2 separate regions of the Homo sapiens genome follow, and region 1 is linked to region 2. The links are contacts of gene promoters, found by promoter capture Hi-C in human tissues and cell types (Jung and others, 2019). All regions are on one chromosome and are shown on one strand. Each heading gives the region's core, a stretch centred on a gene start or on the middle of the fragment in contact. The rest is flanking DNA. Distances are from core to core; before and after follow the strand shown. Region 1 holds the start of SFMBT1 (Scm like with four mbt domains 1). Region 2 overlaps NEK4 (NIMA related kinase 4).

Evidence for each region. The method cuts DNA at HindIII sites, captures the fragments that hold promoters and counts their contacts. A contact is called where the count stands out against the background at its distance.
Region 1: a contact is called between the fragment with the promoter of SFMBT1 here and a fragment that was not itself captured in region 2, in 1 of the 25 tissues and cell types used here (hippocampus).

What each region holds. Positions count from the first base shown.
Region 1 is chr3:53,044,677-53,049,569 of GRCh38, forward strand. It overlaps SFMBT1 (Scm like with four mbt domains 1), which reads right to left and starts at 1,397. Exons shown (of 21, transcript NM_016329.4): 1 at 1,140-1,397. RefSeq lists silencers at 436-725, 1,086-1,145, 1,246-1,565, 1,616-1,725 and enhancers at 1,713-2,214, 2,215-2,714. The HindIII fragment of the contact is 17,124 bases long and covers 4-4,893 here.
Region 2 is chr3:52,756,582-52,761,950 of GRCh38, forward strand. It overlaps NEK4 (NIMA related kinase 4), which reads right to left. Exons shown (of 16, transcript NM_003157.6): 6 at 4,214-4,355. Among named protein-coding and RNA genes, the nearest start is that of NEK4, 12 kb to the right of the region's middle. The HindIII fragment of the contact is 5,152 bases long and covers 1-4,446 here.

The DNA of each region.
Region 1 (4,893 bases), core at 147-2,646, 290 kb after region 2:
AGGGATTGACAAAATCCATCTTACTTCCTTTCGAATCTCTTTGATGGTTACTTGGTTCTCAAACACAGATCACTGCTAACAGGACTCAAAAACACCACTTGGGACCATCAACCAGTGCTGCTTCGGGCGACCCGCTGGGAACACCCCCACCTGACCCAAGCGTCCACCACTCCTTGAGCACAAGCTCTGGGGGTGACCTGTGCCTGCCGGCTTAGTTTTAGACCCTACGGGAACAGCTGACATCTTGTGAAAAACTTAGCATAACGTACATCCTTTCCGCGGGAATTTATTTCTGTTCGCACAAGGCGTTTCTGCTCCGCACAGAGCAGGCCTTGCTTCCCAGGACGCCGCTCGCCCCTCCACAGCCTCCTTTTCAGCGTCCAAAATCGGACTTTAGGAACAGAAATCGAAACGGTCGCGGACCTCCCGAGCGGCAGGTCGGGGCGCTGCCGGGTCGGCGCGGGGTCCAGCGGCGGTGCCCGGCGGGCCGCGGCGCGGGAGAGGCCCGCTCACTTCACAACGGCGGCCCGGAGCCACCGGTTGCGGCGGCCACTAGACGCTCCGCCACCGCGCAGCGACCGCCCGGGCCCTCCGAAGTTCCGACCGGCCGCGCGCCCGGCCCCAGCTGCGGGTTCGCGCCCCGCCCGGAGCGAGCCCGGGGGGCGGGTCCGCGGGGGCTCGGCGGGCGGAGCGCGGGGCGCGCGCGGGGAGGGGCGCGCGGCGGGCCCGGCGCGCCGGGGAACTTGGGCGCCCGCCACTGCCGCCGCCCGGCCACTTTCCTTTCACGCCTCCCGCGGGCTGACGCGCGCCGCGCTGCCTGCCAGGGGCTGACGGCCGCCGCCGCTCTCCGCCGCGGCGAGGCGCCCAGGCGCGCCCCTGCAGCCGGCCGGCCGGCGCGCGGGACCGCGGGGCCGCGCGCGGGCGCCGCGCTCCCCCCGCCCCGCCCCCGCCCCCAACGTGCCGCCGCCGCCGCCCGTTGGCGCCTCAGCCCGCGCGCCCGCCGGCGCCCGGCGGTTTCCCGTTGGCAAAGTTGCGCGGCCGCTTCGAAGGGGACGCCGTACGGTCCCCCGCCCCGGCGCCGCCGCCGCCCCTCCAGGCCGCCGCGCGGGAAGGCCCAGCCGGTGGCCCCGCTTTTTTACCTGCCCGGAGTTTTCGCGCGCGCGCTCGCTCGATCGCTCGCTTTTCCCCCTCTCGCGCTCGTTTTCTTTCTTTCTTTCCGTCTTTTCGCTCCCCCGCGCGGAAGCTTTTTCCTCCCGTGCTGCCCGCGCTCGCCCGCTCGCGCCCTCCTTCCTGCTGGGTTCGGCGGAGCGGGGCGGCCGGCAGCTCTCCCCGCCCCCCTCCACCCGCGCTCCGGCGGAGGCGGCGGCGGCGCTCCGCGCTCCGACTCATTCCAATATGGCACGGACGCAGGGCGCATGCGCCCGCGCCCCCCCACCCCCAGCTCCGCGGTCCTCCAGGCAGCCTGCGCCCCTCGCGCCGCGCCCGTGGAGCTCCCGGGCCCGGCTGCCCCGCTCCCGCCCCAGCGCCATCCCTCCTGGCTGGGGCCGCGCGGGAGGCAAGGACTCCGCGGGCTGGTGTGCCGGGGGTCCGGCGCCGCGGGCCACCCACGCCCCCAGCCAGCAACTCGGCGCGGACGGCCCCGAGGCCGTGGCGCAGGACACGCGGCGGCGCCTCGGGCCCCCGACGGCGCTGTGGCCCCGAGCGGAACGGCCCGGAAGAGGAGACGCGTCCCCGGGAACCCAGTGCCCGCCCTGGCCCAGCCCCGATCCAGCCTGCGCCTCACCTCGGGTTGTAGACAGAGCGGCGGGGATCCCAGAGGGGTTCGCGGGTCGGACCTGGAGTACCGGCCCGGCGAAGCGCGCCGCTGTCGCCCGCACGTGACTGGCTCGGACAAGATGGCATGAGCGGAGAAGCGGCCGGATCCCAGATGCGCGCGTGCCGCCGCCGCGGGCACTGCGCCCGTTTGCCTGCCCCTCGTCGGGGATCGGGCGCTCCCTCTGAGACCTGAAAGGGCACCCAAGTGCCCCCTGTCTGCGAAGTCCGGCGCGGGCCCTTCGGCGCCCCCGATGTCTCTAGGCTTCCGCAGGAGGCGCCCTGTAAATCTTGAGTCTTCCTGCAGCGAGGGGGCACAGGACAGCTGCGAATTGGGACGAACGAGCCCAGAGCCCCGGGAAGGATCAGAACCTCGAAGGCGGCTTCAAGTCGGCCCCGCAGCCCGAGGTGACCGTGGGCGGTTACGTTGCCCGAGCTCGCCCCCTCCTCCTGAGCGCAGGTGCCCGTGGGACATACACCCGCCCACCTGCTCCGGAAAGTTCCCTCCAGAAGGGAGTTCCCGCGCCACCGAGACCCGGGAGCTCCCGATCAGACTCCCAGGCCGTGAAAGGCGTTATCGGACAGGGCCCAGAGGCGCCCCCACAGCAAGAAGAAAGTCTGGGGTTCTCACCGTGTGCCAGGTGCGAGCTCAAGCCACCTCCCTCAACCGCTCTGAGAAATATCCCACTTCACAAACTTGCTCAAAGTCACGCTGCTGGCTGGATTTGAATCCAGATTTTTTTTAGCACCACTGAAAAAACAATATGACAACCGGAGAAAGAAAAATCTAAAAAGAATACAGTAATCCATATTGTTACAAAGAAATGCAACTTTTCACGACATGAAACATATATATACTGTGTATAGTTGCAACCACACTTTTTTTGTTACTACTTTCACTACCATTTTTATTTGTTCACGATTCATTTTTAAGGTGTGCAGGTGTCCTTAACTATTCACTCAGCCCCCTAATGTTTTTGGTTCTTTACGGTTGTTTGCTAACGTATCCTTGAATTCTGCACTTGGGACAAATACCTGGGAGTGGAAAGGCTCCCAGGTAGAAGGCTATGAATGGCCAAGTGGTCTTGGCTTACAGCGTCATATTTTTCCCAAGAGCTGCCCCAATTATTCTACCGCCTCCAAGGAACAAGTGTAAGGAGTTTAACACACTTATAAACATTGAGTGCCATTTCCCCCCTACTTTAATAGTCTATTGCTAGTTCAAGGTTACTTAGCATTTCTTAGGTGACACAACATTCAAAAATGAATGTTTTTCCATGCATTTACTATATGCATTCCCTCTCCTGTGAATAATCTATTCATATCCATCTTCTGGGGACTTGAACCTCTTCTAACTTTGAACAAGCATTTTTTTATGTTACAGATATTACTTCTTTGTCGTCATTGATGCAAATATTTTCTAGCCTGTTGTTCTTTCTTGTTTTATTCTAATGTTCAGTGTGTCATTCTAATGTTTTAATTGCTTCAGTGCTGACAAAGTGAGCTTTCTGCTGCCCATCTGATAGTCTTTTTTCTGCTAGTTTTGTACAATTTCATTTCATATTTCATTCTCTGATGACTATCCCGATTTTATTTTGGCTTATTTATTTGGAGTAAAATATGGACATAACTCACTACCACTGTCATCGGTTGTTATTAATTCTGCAGTTACCATTTATTAAATAATTATTGACCAGACGTGGTGACTTACACCTGTAGTCCTAGCATTTTGGGAGGTTGAGGCAGGAGGATCACTTCAGGCCAGGAGTTTTAGGCTGCAGTGAGCCGTGATTGTGCCAGTGCACTCCACCTGGGTGACAGAGCAAGACTCCATCTCAAAAAAAAAAAAAAAGGCCGGGCGCCATGGCTCACGCCTATAATCCCAGCACTTTGGGAGGCCGAGACGGGTAGATCACGAGGTCAGGAGATTGAGACCATCCTGGCTAACACAGTGAAACCCCGTCTCTACTAAAAATACAAAAAAATTAGCCAGGCATGGTGGCGGGCGCCTGTAGTCCCAGCTACTCCGGAGGCTGAGGCAGGAGAATGGCGTGAATCTGGGAGGCCGAGCTTGCAGTGAGCTGAGATCGCGCCACTGCACTCCAGCCTGGGCGACAAAGCGAGACTCCAACTCAAAAAAAAAAAAAATTCCTTTGTTTAGTAAAATCTACTTTTACGCTAGACTTTCTATTTTGATTAATATATTTCTGAATTCTCCATTTCCTTCCTTAGACCTCAGTTTGAGCAAATACCATATGAATCTAAATATTGGTTCTTTGGAATAGGTTCTAACATATGAAAAGGCTTGATTCCCTCTCATGCCCTTATGAGGTCTTCTTTTTTCAGATTATCAGTTGATATCCACACTGGTTTATGTGTCTCTACACATCCTAGGATAATCATATAAGGGTTAAGAGGACTGGCTTTGAGGACGGACCATCCAGGTTCAACAACCAGCCCTGTGACCTTGGCAACTTATCTATCCCCTCTGGGCCTTCAGGTCTTGGTCTGTAAAATTAGGATAAGAGTAACAGCTGCCTCTGGCCTGGCGCAGTGGCTCACGCCTGTAATCCCAGCACTTTGGGAGGCCGAGGTGGGCAGATTACGAGGTCAGGAGATCGAGCCCATCCTGGCTAACATGGTGAAACTCTGTCTCTACTAAAAATACAAAAAAATTAGCCAGGTGTAGTGGTGGGCGCTTGTAGTCCCAGCTACTCGGGAGGCTGAGGCAGGAGAATGGCGTGAACCCGGGAGACGGAGCTTGCAGTGAGCCAAGATCGTGCCACTGCACTCCAGCCTGGGTGACAGCAAGACTCCAACTCAAAAAAAAAAAAAAAAAAAAGATTAACAGCTGCCTCACAAGCTCAACGCCTAGGACATAGTAAAAGTTTTGTAAATGTTAGCTATTGTTAATGATTTTTTTGAGACAGAGTCTCGCTCTGTCACCCAGGCTGGAGTGCAGTGGTGCAATCTTGGCTCACTGCAACCTCTGCCTCCTGGGTGCAAGCGATTCTCCAGCCTCAGCCTCCTCAGTAGCTGGGATTACAGGCGCACGCTACCACACCCGGCTAATTTTTGTAT
Region 2 (5,369 bases), core at 621-3,120:
ACACCATATATAAAAATTAACTCAAAATGAACAAAAAACCTAAATGTAAGACCTAAAACTATAAAACTCTCAGAAGAAGACATAAGGCAAAGGCTTCACAACATTGGATTTGCCAACGATTTTCTGGATAGGACACCAAAGGCACAGGCAACACAAGAAAAAGACACACTGGATTTCACAAAAATTAAAAATTTTGTGCATCAAAAGATACTATCAACAGAGTAAAAAGGTAACCCACAAAATGAGAGAAAATATTTGCAAATCATATATGTGATAAGGAATTGACATCCTGAATATATGGAGAACTCCTAAAATCCAACAGCAAAAAATGAACGACCCAACTCAAAAATGGGCAAAGGATTTGAATAGACGCTCCTCCCAAAAAGATAGCAAACGGCCAATAAGCACACAAAAAATGCTCAATATAACTAATCACTAAGGAAATGCAAATCAAAACTACAATGAGATACCACCTCATGCCCATTAGGATGGCTATTACTAAAAAATCCCAGAAAATAACAAGTACTGGTGAGAATGTAGAGAAATTGGAACCTTTGTGTACTGCTGATAGGAATGTAAAATGATACAGAAGTTGTGGAAAACAGTACCACAGGTCCTCAAAAAGTTAGAATTACCATGTAGTCAGCAGTTCCACTTCTGGTTATATACCCAACAAAAGAGAAATCAGGGTCTTAGCTGGGAGCAGAGGCTCACGCCTGTAATTCTAGCACTTTGGGAGGCCAAGGCGGGTGGATTACCTGAGGTCAGGAGTTTGAGACCAGCCTGGCCAACATGGTGAAATCCCATCTCTACTAAAAATACAAAAATTAGCTGGGCATGATGGCACATGCCTGTAATCCCAGCTACTTGGGAGGCTGAGGCAGGAGAATCGCTTGAACCTGGGAGGTGGAGGTTACAGTGAGCCACGATTGTGCCACTGCGCTCCAACCTGGGTAACAGTGAGACTCCGTCTCAAAAAAAAAAAAAAAAAGAAAAAAGAAATCAGGGTCTCAAAGAGATAAGTGTACATTCATGTTCATAGCAGCGTTATTCACACTAGCAAAAAAGGTGGAAACAACACAAATGTACATCTGCAGATGAACCAGATAAACAAAACGTGGGATATACATGCAACAGAATACTATTCAGCATTAAAAAGGAAGGTAATTCTGACATATGTCACAACATGGATGAACCTTGAGGATATTATGTGAAACGAAATAAGGCAGTCATGAAAGACAAATAATGCAAGATCTCCTTATCTGAGGTACTTACACTAGTCAAAACCATGGAGACAGAAAGTAGAATGGTGGGCCAGGCACAGTGGCTCACACCTGTAATCTCAGCATTTTGGGAGGCCAAGGTGGGTGGATTGCCTGAGGTCAGGAGTTCAAGACCAGTCTGGCCAACGTGGTGAAACCCTGTCTCTACTAAAAATACAAAAAAAATTAGCCAGATGTTGTGGCGTGTACCTGTAATCCCAGCTATTCAGGGGGCTGAGGCAGGGGAATTGCTTGAACCAGGGAGGTGGAGGTTGCAGTGAGCCGAGATCATGCCACTGCACTCCAGCCTGGGTGACACAGCAAGACACCATCTCAAAAAAAAAAAAAAAAAAAAAAAAAGAAAGAAAGTAGAATGGTAGAACAGTGGTTGCCAGGGACTGGGGTAGTAGGGAATGGGGAGATACTGTTTAATGGTAACAGAGTTCAGTTTTACAATATGAGAGTTATGAAGATGAGGGGTGATGGCTGCATAACATTATAGATGTATTTAACACCACTAAATTGTACACTTACAAATGGTTAAAATAGTAAATTTTACATTATGTGTACTTTATCATAATGAAAAAATTAAAACTAAAAATTCGATCGACAACCTAAATATAAGAGCTAAAACTATAAAACTGTTAGAAGAAACTATGGCATAAACCTTCAAGACGTTGGATTTGGCAAGGGATTCTTAGCTATGACAACAAAATAAAAAAATAGATAAACTGGACTTCATCAAAATTAGAAGCTTTTGTGAAAAGGACATTATCAAGAAAGTGAAAAAACAAAAGAAATTTTTAAAAACAAAAAAAAAAATTTTAACTAAAAAAGGAAAGAAAAGACAACCTATACAATGGAGAAAATACTTGCAAGTTGTCTATCTGACAAGGGACTAGTATCTGGAACACAGATCGAGAACTCCTACAACTCAACAACAAAAAGACAAAAACACAATTTAAAACTGGGCAGGGGCTGGGTGATGTGGCTCATACCTGTAATATCAGCACTTTGGGAGGAAAACGCAGAAGAACTGTTCAAGACCAGCCTGAGCAACATAGTGAGACCCACCTCTACAAAAATAATCATAATAATTAGCCAGGTATGGTGGCGTGCACCTGTAGACACAGCTAATCGGAAGGCTGAGGTAGGAGGATCCCTTGAGTCAAGGAGTTCAGAGGCTGTAGTGAGCTATGATGATGCCACTATACTCCAGCCTACGTAACAGAGCAAGATCCTCTCTTAAAAAAAGAAAAAAGAAAAAAAAAAAAAAAGCCTGGGCACAGTGGCTCATGCCTGTAATTCCAGCACTTTGTTTGGGAAGCCAAGGTGGGAGGACCTCCTGAGCCCAGGAGTTTGAGACCAGCCTGGGCAACATAGTAAGACATTGTCTCTACAAATAAAAAAATTAGCCAGGCATGGTGGCATGCTGTGGTCCCAGCTACTCAGGAGGCTGAGGTGGGAGGATCACTTGATCCAGAGAGGTGGAGGCTAGATTGAGCCGTGATCGCAGCACTGCACTCCAGCCTAGGCAACAGAGCAAGACCCTGTATCAAAAAAAAAAAAGCAAAAGCTTTAGCAGATATTTCTCCAAAGAAGACATACAAATGGCCAACAAGCATGTGAAAAGATGCTGTATGTCATTAATCGTTAGGGAAATACAAATCAAAAATACAATAGGATACCACTTTACACCCACTAGGATGGCTAGAATCAAAAAATCAGAAAATAATTAGTGCCGGCAAAGATGTGGAGAAACTGGAACTCTTGTGCACTGCTGATGGGAATGTCAAATGGTGCAGCCACTGTAGAAAACAGTGCAACAGTTCCTCAAAAAGTCAAACCAAAAAAAAAGTCAAACCAAAAATTACCATTTGACTCAGCAATTCCACTGCTAGGTATGTACCCAAAAGAACGGAAAACAGGTACTCAACTACTTGCACACTTATGTTCATAGCAATAGCCAAAAGGTGAAAAAAACCCAGATGTCTACTAATGGATGAATGGATAAACAGTGGTATATCCACATAATGGTAGCCAGACCTAAAAAGAAATGAAGTATTCATACATGCTACATGGATGAACCTTGAAAATATGCTATGTGGAAGACACCAGAAACAAAAGGATATATTTAATGATTCTATTTACATGAAATATCCAGGACAGGTAACTTCATAGAGACAGGAAACACACTGGTGGTTGCCAGAGGCTGGGTGAAGGACAAAATGGGAGTGACTGCTTAATGAGGAAGAGATTTCCTTTGGGGTGATGAAAATGTTTTGGAACTACATAGAAGTGACGGTTGCACTACACTGTGAATGTACTGGCCACATTTAATTGATCACTTTATTTATTTATTTTATTTTATTTATTTTTATTTTTATTTTTGAGACAGTGTCTCATTCTGTCACCCAGGCTGGAGTGCAGTAGTGCAGTCTTGGCTCACTGCAACCTCCACCTCCCAGGTTCAAGCGATTCTCCTCCCTCAGCCTCCTGAGTAGCTATGACTACAGGTACATGCCACCACAGCCAGCTAATTTTTGTATTTTTAGTAGAGATGAGGGTTCACCATGTTGGCCAGGCTGGTCTTGAACTCCTGACCTCAGGTGATCTGCCAGCCTCGGCCTCCCAGAGTGCTGGGATTGCAGGCATGAGCCACCGCGCTCAGCCTTAACTGTTTACTTTAAAATGGTTAATTTTGTTATATAAATTTCACCTAAAAAATTCTTAAAGTTATTACAGCACTGACTTTGTGAACAATTTGACAGCCCAATTTGGATAAAGCTAAATCAATCACCTTAACCAGTATTCTTTCTTTACAGTAAGGAATTAATTGTACAACAGAATCTCTAGTAAAGCATAATCATTTCACACAAAATAATTTGCTTAGATGGCCCATTTTTCTAAGTGCAGTTTCTAAAACACATACCCTTTAAAAAGAAACGTACCATTATATATGTCTGGGAGCCCTCAGAAGAGAGTGGTTGGGGGTGGATTACTTCATGATTTGATTCTGCCTCTCCAGAAACCACTGTAGCAAAAGGCTTGGATTGAGAGTCACCATTTTTAATGTTATTTTTGGAGGTTTTTCTTTATAAAGAAGAAAAGAAAGAGTTATTATCAATATACTGAAGATTAAGGGTTTTTAGGTATATGTGGGAGTGTGTGTATACAATGAATTCCCTTACAGAACTGCACCATTTATAGAGAATAGTTTTCTAAAAATCTAAGGGGCATCCTACAAAACACCTCACCAGTAGTCTTTGAAACAATCAAGGTCATAAAAAATAAACAAAGTGAGAAACAATCACAGACCCCTGATTAGATGTACTATATCCTGGATTGGATCCTGGAACAGAAAAGAGACATTAGAGAAAAAAACTGGTGAAAGCCAAAGAAAGTCTGGAATTTAGTCAATAGTAATATTTTTCTTTCTTTTTTTAAAAAATTGAGACAGAGTTTCACTCTGTCATCCAGGCTAGAGTGTAGTGGCGTGATCTCAGCTCACTGCAACCTCCGCTGCCCAGGTTCAAGTGATTCTTGTGCCTCAGCCTCCCGAGTAGCTGGGACTACAGGTGCACGCCACCACGCCCGGCTAATTTTTTTGTATTTTTTTTTTAGTAGAGACGGGGTTTTGCCATGTTGGCCAGGCTGGTCTTAAACTCCTGACCTCAGGTGATCTGCCAGCCTCGGCCTCCCAAAGTGCTGGGATTACAGGCGTGAGCCACCATGCATGGCCAAGTCAATAGTAATATTTCGATGTTGGTTTCTTAGTTTTGACAAATGCATTAGGGTATGTAATCTGGTAATCACAGAAGAAACTAGATGAGGGGTATACAGGAACTCTCCACTCTATCTTTCCAACTTTTCTGTTTATACAAAATTATTCCAAAATAAAAATTCTATGGGAGATTGCCTCACATACGGGAGTATCAGGTTAATTTTCATTTTCAAATTTTACATGTCTGTAATAATACCACAACTGCTTGGCTAACTTTGAGAGTAAAACTGATTGGTACACTTAGTCCTGCTTATAGAATAAATGCATACAGGAATAACATCCCCAACTATTTTAGTATGTCATTTCTAAAACTGGGCTAAACC